3 separate regions of the Homo sapiens genome follow, and all the other regions are linked to region 1. Evidence: promoter capture Hi-C in 16 types of primary human blood cells and fetal thymus (Javierre and others, 2016). All regions are on one chromosome and are shown on one strand. The core of a region is centred on a gene start or on the middle of the fragment in contact, and the rest is flanking DNA. Distances in the headings are between cores, read along the strand shown.

What was found. Contacts are between HindIII fragments. The CHiCAGO score rates a contact against its expected background, and 5 or more counts as called.
Region 2: a fragment that was not itself captured here is called in contact with the fragment with the promoter of BCL6B in region 1 in 3 of 17 cell types (activated CD4 T cells, fetal thymus and naive CD8 T cells); the score reaches 6.1 in activated CD4 T cells.
Region 3: the fragment with the promoter of RPL26 here is called in contact with the fragment with the promoter of BCL6B in region 1 in 1 of 17 cell types (activated CD4 T cells); the score reaches 5.2 in activated CD4 T cells.

Annotation. Positions count from the first base shown.
Region 1 is chr17:7,021,742-7,024,441 of GRCh38, forward strand. BCL6B (BCL6B transcription repressor) reads left to right here and starts at 1,309. Exons shown (of 9, transcript NM_181844.4): 1 at 1,309-1,358; 2 at 1,919-2,109; 3 at 2,342-2,563; 4 at 2,660-2,700. The coding sequence starts at 1,931. RefSeq lists a silencer at 263-402. The HindIII fragment of the contact is 4,378 bases long and covers 1-2,700 here.
Region 2 is chr17:8,120,087-8,122,840 of GRCh38, forward strand. HES7 (hes family bHLH transcription factor 7) reads right to left here. Exons shown (of 4, transcript NM_001165967.2): 3 at 2,257-2,344; 4 at 506-1,951. The coding sequence ends at 1,485. It overlaps TRL-TAG1-1 (tRNA-Leu (anticodon TAG) 1-1), which reads right to left and starts at 309; the gene lies at 228-309. TRR-TCT2-1 (tRNA-Arg (anticodon TCT) 2-1) reads left to right here and starts at 839; the gene lies at 839-926. RefSeq lists silencers at 155-364, 1,305-1,764, 1,985-2,094. The HindIII fragment of the contact is 3,122 bases long and covers 1-2,754 here.
Region 3 is chr17:8,381,766-8,384,465 of GRCh38, forward strand. RPL26 (ribosomal protein L26) reads right to left here and starts at 1,428. Exons shown (of 4, transcript NM_000987.5): 1 at 1,392-1,428; 2 at 378-550. The coding sequence starts at 545. RefSeq lists enhancers at 886-1,603, 1,183-1,352, 1,604-2,321 and a silencer at 1,753-2,022. The HindIII fragment of the contact is 10,171 bases long and covers 1-2,700 here.

The DNA.
Region 1 (2,700 bases), core at 59-2,558:
CTTGTTTTCCCTTCTCGTTTACCCCACCCAATTTTAATGTTCAATTAAAAGTCACCTCCAAAGACATCTGGGTAGCAGTGTCTAGCTTAATTCGAAAAGAAAACCCGGAGTTCCCAGGCTCAGGTCCCGCTTCTTGTCCCACCCATTCCCCTGGCTCCTAAAGCCCGCGATTTCTCACCTCGGGTAGGAACCCCAGCCTGAGGGGAAAGTCCCCTCGGTCTCCTAACTCTAGCTCCCTCCGCCCAGCCCTAGTCCCCTCCTAGGAGACAGAGGTGCAAAATAAACCCGCGCAAAGGGGAGGAGGCTAAAGGTTTCAGCCGCCCAGACCAAATGGATCCTGCGCCCGGGTCTGAGCGCACCCCAGGCCGGGTGGAGACGAGGGGCGAGGCGAGGCCAGTGCTCGGCCGCCCCCTCGTGGAAGGAGCCGCACATTGCCGAGCCTTGCCTACTTGCCGCGCTGGACCCCGGCGTCCCGCCAGCCTCCAAGCGTAGCCGACGGGCGGGTGCCCGAGGCCCTCGTGAGCTGGGATTGGGGGAAAGCAAGCGGGCTTTGGGCGGGAGTCCATCTCTCTGGATCCCTACAAGGACCCAGAAGAGAGTCGGGAGCGAGAGAGGCCGGACGCCTAGGTCTCCCGAGCGTCTCTCGCCCCTCCACCCCCACCTCGGGGCTTTCCCCACCTCCTCGAGGGGAAGCAGCTGGCGGAGCCGTCCGGTCGCAGGACAATGGAAGGAAACCAACTAGAAATCATATCCGCCCTCTCCGTACCCCGCCCGGCCAGAGCCCCCCTTTTTGTAGGCCCGGGTAGAGTAGCCTGTCATTCACACCACACCCTCCCCGTCTGAGACCCTACGGGAGCCCACTGTCGTCTGCCCAAACCTGCTGTCTCGTTGGGCTCCCCCTTTTCTCCCTTAACACAGTACAAGAGAGGGAGAGGGGGTTGCCGTATGCACTTTGTCCTGCAGCAAAGGTTGGCTCCTGGCAAACCCTCCCAAAAGCCAACACACCAATTTTCACTGGCCCAGGCCTTCCGACGACTCAGACTCCCGTATTGCCAACCTCGATATCCCTAACCTCCTCCCCAATTCCAATATCCCCGTCCTCGTGTCCACTTGCAGTGACCCAAGACCCCCTACGTTACGACCACCCCTTGTTTCTGAGGTCCCGCCCTCGAGACGGAGACCCCGCCCTGGACTCGCCATCTGGAGAGCGAGGGAGGAAGGAAGGATACAGACCCAGGCGTTCACCCCACCTCCACCCCCGCCCCCGACATCCCGGCCAGATAAAGGAGCCGAGGCCAAGAGGGGAGAGAGACCCCGCCCCCCTTAAGAAGAGAAGCCGCGGCCCCTGCAGGACGGGGGTAAGAACAAGAGACTGAGGGAGCCAGACTCCTGGGTCCCCCAAGAGGGTAGGAGCTTGTGTGGAGCTTGCCATCAGCGAGCCTGAGTCCCAGAAATTGGGCTAAACTAGGGATTGGGGACTAGATAGGAGTCGCAGAATTCCGTAGTTCGGGGAAGGGAGCCTCGGCTGGGATTTGGAGGTGTGTGGACGGCAGGCCGTGAGATCTCGAGGCAGGGTTGGACACCTGAGACACAGGCGCGCAGAGGGGAGTGGCGGTGCTGGAGGGGCACTGGGGGTCGAACCCAGGGCGATGGGCGCGGGATTCCCCACGCTCGCCAACGACGCCGCGGTGTGGAACCTTCAACTGGCTCCAAGCGCTGTGGGATCTGGAAGAGGCAAGGGAGCGAGGGTGTCGTAGAGGGCAGAATGAACAAGAAGAATTAGGAGGGAGGCTGCGTGTGCCGGGGCTAGGGGCTGGAAGTCCTGGCTCTAGTTGCACCTCGGAAGGAAAAGGCAAACAGAGGAGGGAAGGCGTCTTAGGACTGCCTGGATCCAGAGCACTTTCCACGGCCTCTACAGGCCTGTGTCGCTATGGGTTCCCCCGCCGCCCCGGAGGGAGCGCTGGGCTACGTCCGCGAGTTCACTCGCCACTCCTCCGACGTGCTGGGCAACCTCAACGAGCTGCGCCTGCGCGGGATCCTCACTGACGTCACGCTGCTGGTTGGCGGGCAACCCCTCAGAGCACACAAGGCAGTTCTCATCGCCTGCAGGTTCGAGGGGTGGGGCCTGGGGCGGGGCCAAATGGGAAAGGGGTGGGACCACAGGGCCGTTGAGAGGGAATCCGAAGCCAAGTCTTTCAGAAGCAGGAGGCGGAGCGTCCCAGAATTGGGGGCGGGGTGATAGTGAGGAGGCGGGACTTTTTCAGGGGGCGGGGCTTCCTGAAGCTGCGCATGTCTCCCTTGGTTCCCCAGCCCCCAAAGGACTTATCTGCTCTCTCTCTAGTGGCTTCTTCTATTCAATTTTCCGGGGCCGTGCGGGAGTCGGGGTGGACGTGCTCTCTCTGCCCGGGGGTCCCGAAGCGAGAGGCTTCGCCCCTCTATTGGACTTCATGTACACTTCGCGCCTGCGCCTCTCTCCAGCCACTGCACCAGCAGTCCTAGCGGCCGCCACCTATTTGCAGATGGAGCACGTGGTCCAGGCATGCCACCGCTTCATCCAGGCCAGGTGAGGGACCCTGGCTCGGCGTTCTCTGTGGGTGAGGTGTTAAGGGCAAAGGCAGAGTTTAGGAAATGGCACTAACGTTCATCACACTTTCCCCAGCTATGAACCTCTGGGCATCTCCCTGCGCCCCCTGGAAGCAG
Region 2 (2,754 bases), core at 52-2,551, 1.1 Mb after region 1:
AGATGTTATGAAGAAACGAAATATTGCTTCAGCAGTTACCATCAGGTCTTAGCTTCTGGGATGGATGCAGGCCTATGATCTCTCTGGAAGACCAAACACGGAAGATGATGGTGAAACCATTACCAGGGGAATTCGTAAAATTACTTTCTGCATGTAAATAGGTGTAACCTCACAGAACTGTTAACAGAACTGTAGCAGGTGCGTAATCCACCAGAAAAACTCCAGCCTGGCAGCGGTGGGATTCGAACCCACGCCTCCGAAGAGACTGGAGCCTAAATCCAGCGCCTTAGACCGCTCGGCCACGCTACCTGCACGAAAACTTACTGTCCCCGTTGTCCTCCTAAGAGACTAGAAGTAAGGAATGGGGCAAATCTTAAGAGTGCCAAATTGATTCGTCTCCTTTTCCACATCTTTTAGACTGGAAATGAAGAACCATCGAGACTGTGGACCGCATAGCAGCAGATGGCAGAACAGATAAACGAGAAGAGACAAAAACACACAGAAATTTACAACAAAACTAGTTTATTTGGGTGGGACTATATCTGGGAGTGGGGAGCGCCTGAGCCGGAAACACCCCCCAAGCGGGCAGCCGGAGCTCTGCACTCGCTCGCTCAGCCATTTTCGGTTGCTCTCCCTCCCTGTTTTTTCGACCCATGTGCGCCCTCTCTCTCACCTGGCTAACATGCTTTGCGCCCGCTACCTCTACCTGGCTTGGCCTCTGAGATCCAAACCGCGCCCTCCTGGCATGTCCCGCCCAAGTCCCTTAGCCCCGCTCCCCAACCCTGCCCCATTCCCACTCTAGTACCCGTAAGCTACAAGACGCCGCCGTTCGTCGGGTGGCTCTGTGGCGCAATGGATAGCGCATTGGACTTCTAGTGACGAATAGAGCAATTCAAAGGTTGTGGGTTCGAATCCCACCAGAGTCGATTTTATTTCAATTTTTCCTTTTTATCCGTTTTTTTCTTAAAGGCCCCCATCCCTTCTCCCCCTACCCTATCTCTCTCTTTCCACCTGGTTTCAATTTCGATCTCAGTTCCCGCTCTGCTCTCTTCTTTACTTACCTGTCTGCCCCGGGGCTTGGGCCATGGAGAGCAGGACTGAGGGTGGGAGACAGAAGGGAAGGGAAAGTGGGCGTGGACGTCGAGATAAAGGCAGGCCCCTGGCTCGGGGACACACGGGGATTTAATAACCACTTTATTCCATGCACTAGGGACTCGGGAAGGGACTGGGACTGGGCTGAGGGGCAGAGAGAGTACAATCCTAGACGCAAGGGAGAAGTTGGGGCAGGGAAAAGGGACAGGAACCAGGGAAATATATATTTATATAGATACTCTAATATAGACCACATCTCACCCGCGCGCTGAGCCCGCGCGCCCCACTGCCCTCCCCAACACCTGCTCGCCCGGACGCCCGGGTCCCTCTGCTGCCCTCGGGCTGGAGTCTCTACCCCACCCCTAGACCCCGCCCCCACCACCCCCCAAGGCTCAGGGCCAAGGTCTCCAGAAAGCGGGCGGCGGGGGCAGCGGGGCCTTGGGCGCCCCGTCTTGTCTGTGAGGCGGCGGTGGCGGCGGCAGCAGTCCGGTGAGGGGCGCCGGCGCGCCAGAATCCCCGGCGCGCGGGGAGCAGAGGGATGGGGACCATGCGCAGCGCGGGCTAGGGTGGCCCTGGTGCACTGGGGGGCGCTGGTGCAGCGCAGGGCCAAGGGCCGGTGCGGCGGGGTCCAGGGATGGGCGCGGCGCTGGAGGCCTCGGATCTACCGGCTTGGGCCGGGGCGGTTTGGGGCGCAGATAGCCGTGCAGCGCGGAGAAGAGCTGGGCGCGGGCGGCCGGGCTGGCGTCGTGCGCGAAGGCCGCCAAGCGAAGCAGGCACTCGCGGAAACCGGACAAGTAGCAGCTGGCGAGCGCCTCGGCGTCCTGGACTGGGGACCGGGGAACCCCTGGAGCCGCGGCGGCTGGTGCGGCCGGCGGGAGCACAGGTGGGCAGGGCAGGGGCCCGGCAGGGGTGAGGGAAGGGGCGGGGCGCAGAGATACCAAGGCCGGACAGGCGCACAGAGACAGGAAGCCAGATGGACGGAAAGAGGGAGAAAATGAGGGAGACACAGAGACAGACACGCGCGGGTGTTATTAACCTCGCCTCGGAGCAGAACCGGCCACTCCCCAAGCCCACCATCCACCGCAGGGCCCGCCCACTCTGCCCCGGCCGGAGCCTCCTGGCGTCCCCCCTCCCTCCCTCCGCTGCCCCACCCCCGCGCTGTACCCGGGGGCTCCACCCGGCTTCGCTCCCTCAAGTAGCCCACGGCGAACTCCAATATCTCCGCTTTCTCCAGCTTCGGGTTCCGGAGGTTCTACAGACGGGAGGGGAGGGCGCAGAGACAGAAAGGGGTGGGGAGAAAGGGGGAAAGTGGCAGGGGGAAGAAGGGAGGGACGGATGCGGGAGCTGGTGGTGCCCCCGATCGCATTTGCGCACTGCCCACAGAACGCGCGACCAAATGCGGAGTGGAGATGACCAAGGAAAGTCCTGGCCCACCCTGAGACGAAACTGTCCAATCCTAGGGGTTGGAACCAATGCCCAACGCGTGAGGAGGAGATTTGAAACCGCAACCCAGGGAATGAAATTAACCACCCGACATAACAGAGGCTGGCTCATCAGAGGCTGGCTGTGGGGGAGGGGGAACCGGACACTTAGAGACCCAAAGGGTGAAACTGACCGACCCCGGGAGCGAAATTTACAGAACCAGGCGTGAAACTTACAGAC
Region 3 (2,700 bases), core at 178-2,677, 1.4 Mb after region 1:
AAAAACACAAAAATTAGCCGAGCCGTGGTGGCGGGCGCTTGTAATCCCAGCTACTCGGGAGGCTGAGGCAGGAGAATCGCCTGAACCCGGGAGGCGAAGGTTGCAGTGAGCTGAGATGGCACCACTGCACTCCAGCCTGGGGGGGACAAGAGCGAGACTTCATCTCAAAAAAAAAAAAAAAAAAGATTTTCACCAAATAATACAATTAAAAACTGAAAAGCAGCTTACTTACTGTTTTTTGGTCCCTGGCTCAACTCATCTTGCCACTCTTTGGGAGCAAGAGTCTCAGAAGCATCTTTCTCAGGAATGCAATCTCTCTTCTAAGCTAAGTGCGTAAAATATCCATCAAGACAACGAGAACAAGTAGGGATACACACCTGAACTTCATCATCCTTTCGGATGGGCATGGATCGCACGTTGTACTTCTGTCTCAGCTCTTTGGAAAGAGGGGAAGACATAATCTTCCTTCGAATGTGGGAAGGTGCATTGAAATGCCTTTTGCGATTCTTGCTTCGGTCGGAAGTCACAAAGGGATTAAACTTCATTTTGGCTAAATAAAAAGTTAAAAAGACTCTTAAATGACCAAAATCTCATCCAGCTTCCAAACAAATAACCGCAATGATTTTATCTTGATAGTCTAGAATGATCATAGGCAGTGTCATGTTGTGCAACTTCAACAAAAACTGTTTGATCGGAAGGGCCTATCAACCGAAGCTCGAAACTTTTTATTTTTTGTTTTATTCGGGTGTTTTCTGTATATGTTTACGGACTAAAGACTTTTGCATCAAAAACACTTGTCCTAGTTATAAGACCTTTTAGTTACACTCTCCCAACTCCTCAAGTAGTGCCTGAGGAAATCAAGACTGGACTTACATCTCTGCTGAGCAGACCGACAACGCAATTCTCTTAACTATAACCTCACGTTTTAGAAGGTACAATCAACGTTCATCTTCTACAGGCTTAAGAGTGAATACGTATAGCCCCGCCAAAATGAATAAGGCCCACCAACCCGAACCTGGAAAAGCCTGCACACGTCTCGGGTCCTAAAAGCCTCCCAGTGGGCAAGTGTGGTCTGGAAATTCCGTGAAGACTTTACCGAGAAGTTACTTCGAGACCATTCTCTAGGAAACGACACTACCCAGACTCCAGTCTATTTCCACAGGCTCCCTTCCCTCAGCTCGTTTTCGAGTTCCCAAATCCCCGGTCCCTCCATCCATCTCCGGCCCGGCGGCCCTTGATTTAAGAAAGCAACAGATAAAAAACCATCCCAGTCTCTCCTTCCTGGCTGCTACTCGGCCGACAAGAGACTCTCGGGGTCCCCGCGGTCGGAAGCCACCATGCCCAAGAACGGATGGCTGCTGATTACACCCGCTTGCCCGCCGAATCCTTACCCGCTCCCGCTTCGGTGATGGCCGCAAAAGGGAAGAGAACTACACGCTGCTTCCGGTTCTGTAAGTTTACCAAAGATCTCGCGAGACCTATGTCTCTCGGAGCGAGAGGGGCGCGGAGTTTGAGCGAGGGGAGTAAACTGGGAAATAAATTTATGGCTAGTGTCACCTAGTGGCTAGGAGGGGAACTGCGAGGGATTGCAAAACTCCCCTCCTCCAGGTCCTAGTGTCTCCCTTCCGAGACCCGGGTGCTGCCGCTGAATCCTCTGGGAAGGGTAGTCCCGGGGCTATTGGCTAAGGCTGCTCAGGGTCCAACTGCCCCTGGGGGTGATGAAGGAACGAGCGGCCCCAGGAGACCGCCCAGGAGACCCGCTGGTACCTTCACTCCCAGGTGCCGGGGCGGGGGCCGGCACCCCTTAGCCGGGGAAGCGCAGGCCCTGCTTCTGGCCGCCAGGAGGCGCGGGGACGCCGGCCGGCCGGTCGCCTGGGTCCCTGCACTCACCGTCCCCTCCCGCCCGTGGCGTGGGCGCGGCCAGCGTGCCGGTACTTTAACGAGCTCCACCGCGACGCCGGCCACCGCCCCTGCACCTGGGCGTCTGCTGACCGCACAGCAGGGCCCGCCAGAGATTCAGTTCTGGGTGGTGAGGGGCCTTGCGAGGACCAGGGCCACCGATCGCCGCCTGCCCCCGCGGAAATAGGTCCAAGGCCGCGTTTCCAAGGCGCCCCCAGTGCTGTGGGAGGTGCTGGTCCAGACCACGCTTCGAAGGAGCCAGGCGAGAGGAAGCCTCTCGGTGCGGGGAGCTGCGCGGGTTTCTAAATGCTCGGCCTGTTTGCGTCCAGTTCAGGACCAGACGGAAGCCGTGCGCTCCCTGCAAATGGTTTCTTTTCTTCTTCTTCGTGTGTGTGTGTGTGTGTGTGTGTGTGTGTGTGTGTGTGTGTGTGTGTGTGTGTGTGTGTGTGTGTCTTTTTCTTCTTTTTGAGACAGTTTCGCTCTTGTTGCTCAGGCTGGAGCGCACTGGCACGATCTCCACTCACTGCAACCTCCGCCTCCCGGGTTCTCCTGCCTCAGCCTCCTGAGTAGCTGGGATTACAGGCGCCCGCCACCACGCCCGGCTAATTTTTGTAGTTTTAGTAGAGACGAGGGTTCACCATGTTGGCCAGGCTGGTCTCGAACTCCCGACCTCAGGCAATCCGCCCGCCTCAGCCTCCCAAAGTGCTGGGATTACAGGCGTGAGCCACCGCGCCCGGCCCCTGCAAATGGTTTCTGAGGCAGCGGCAGTGCAGCAGGCACCGGCGCTGAACGGCTTCTGCT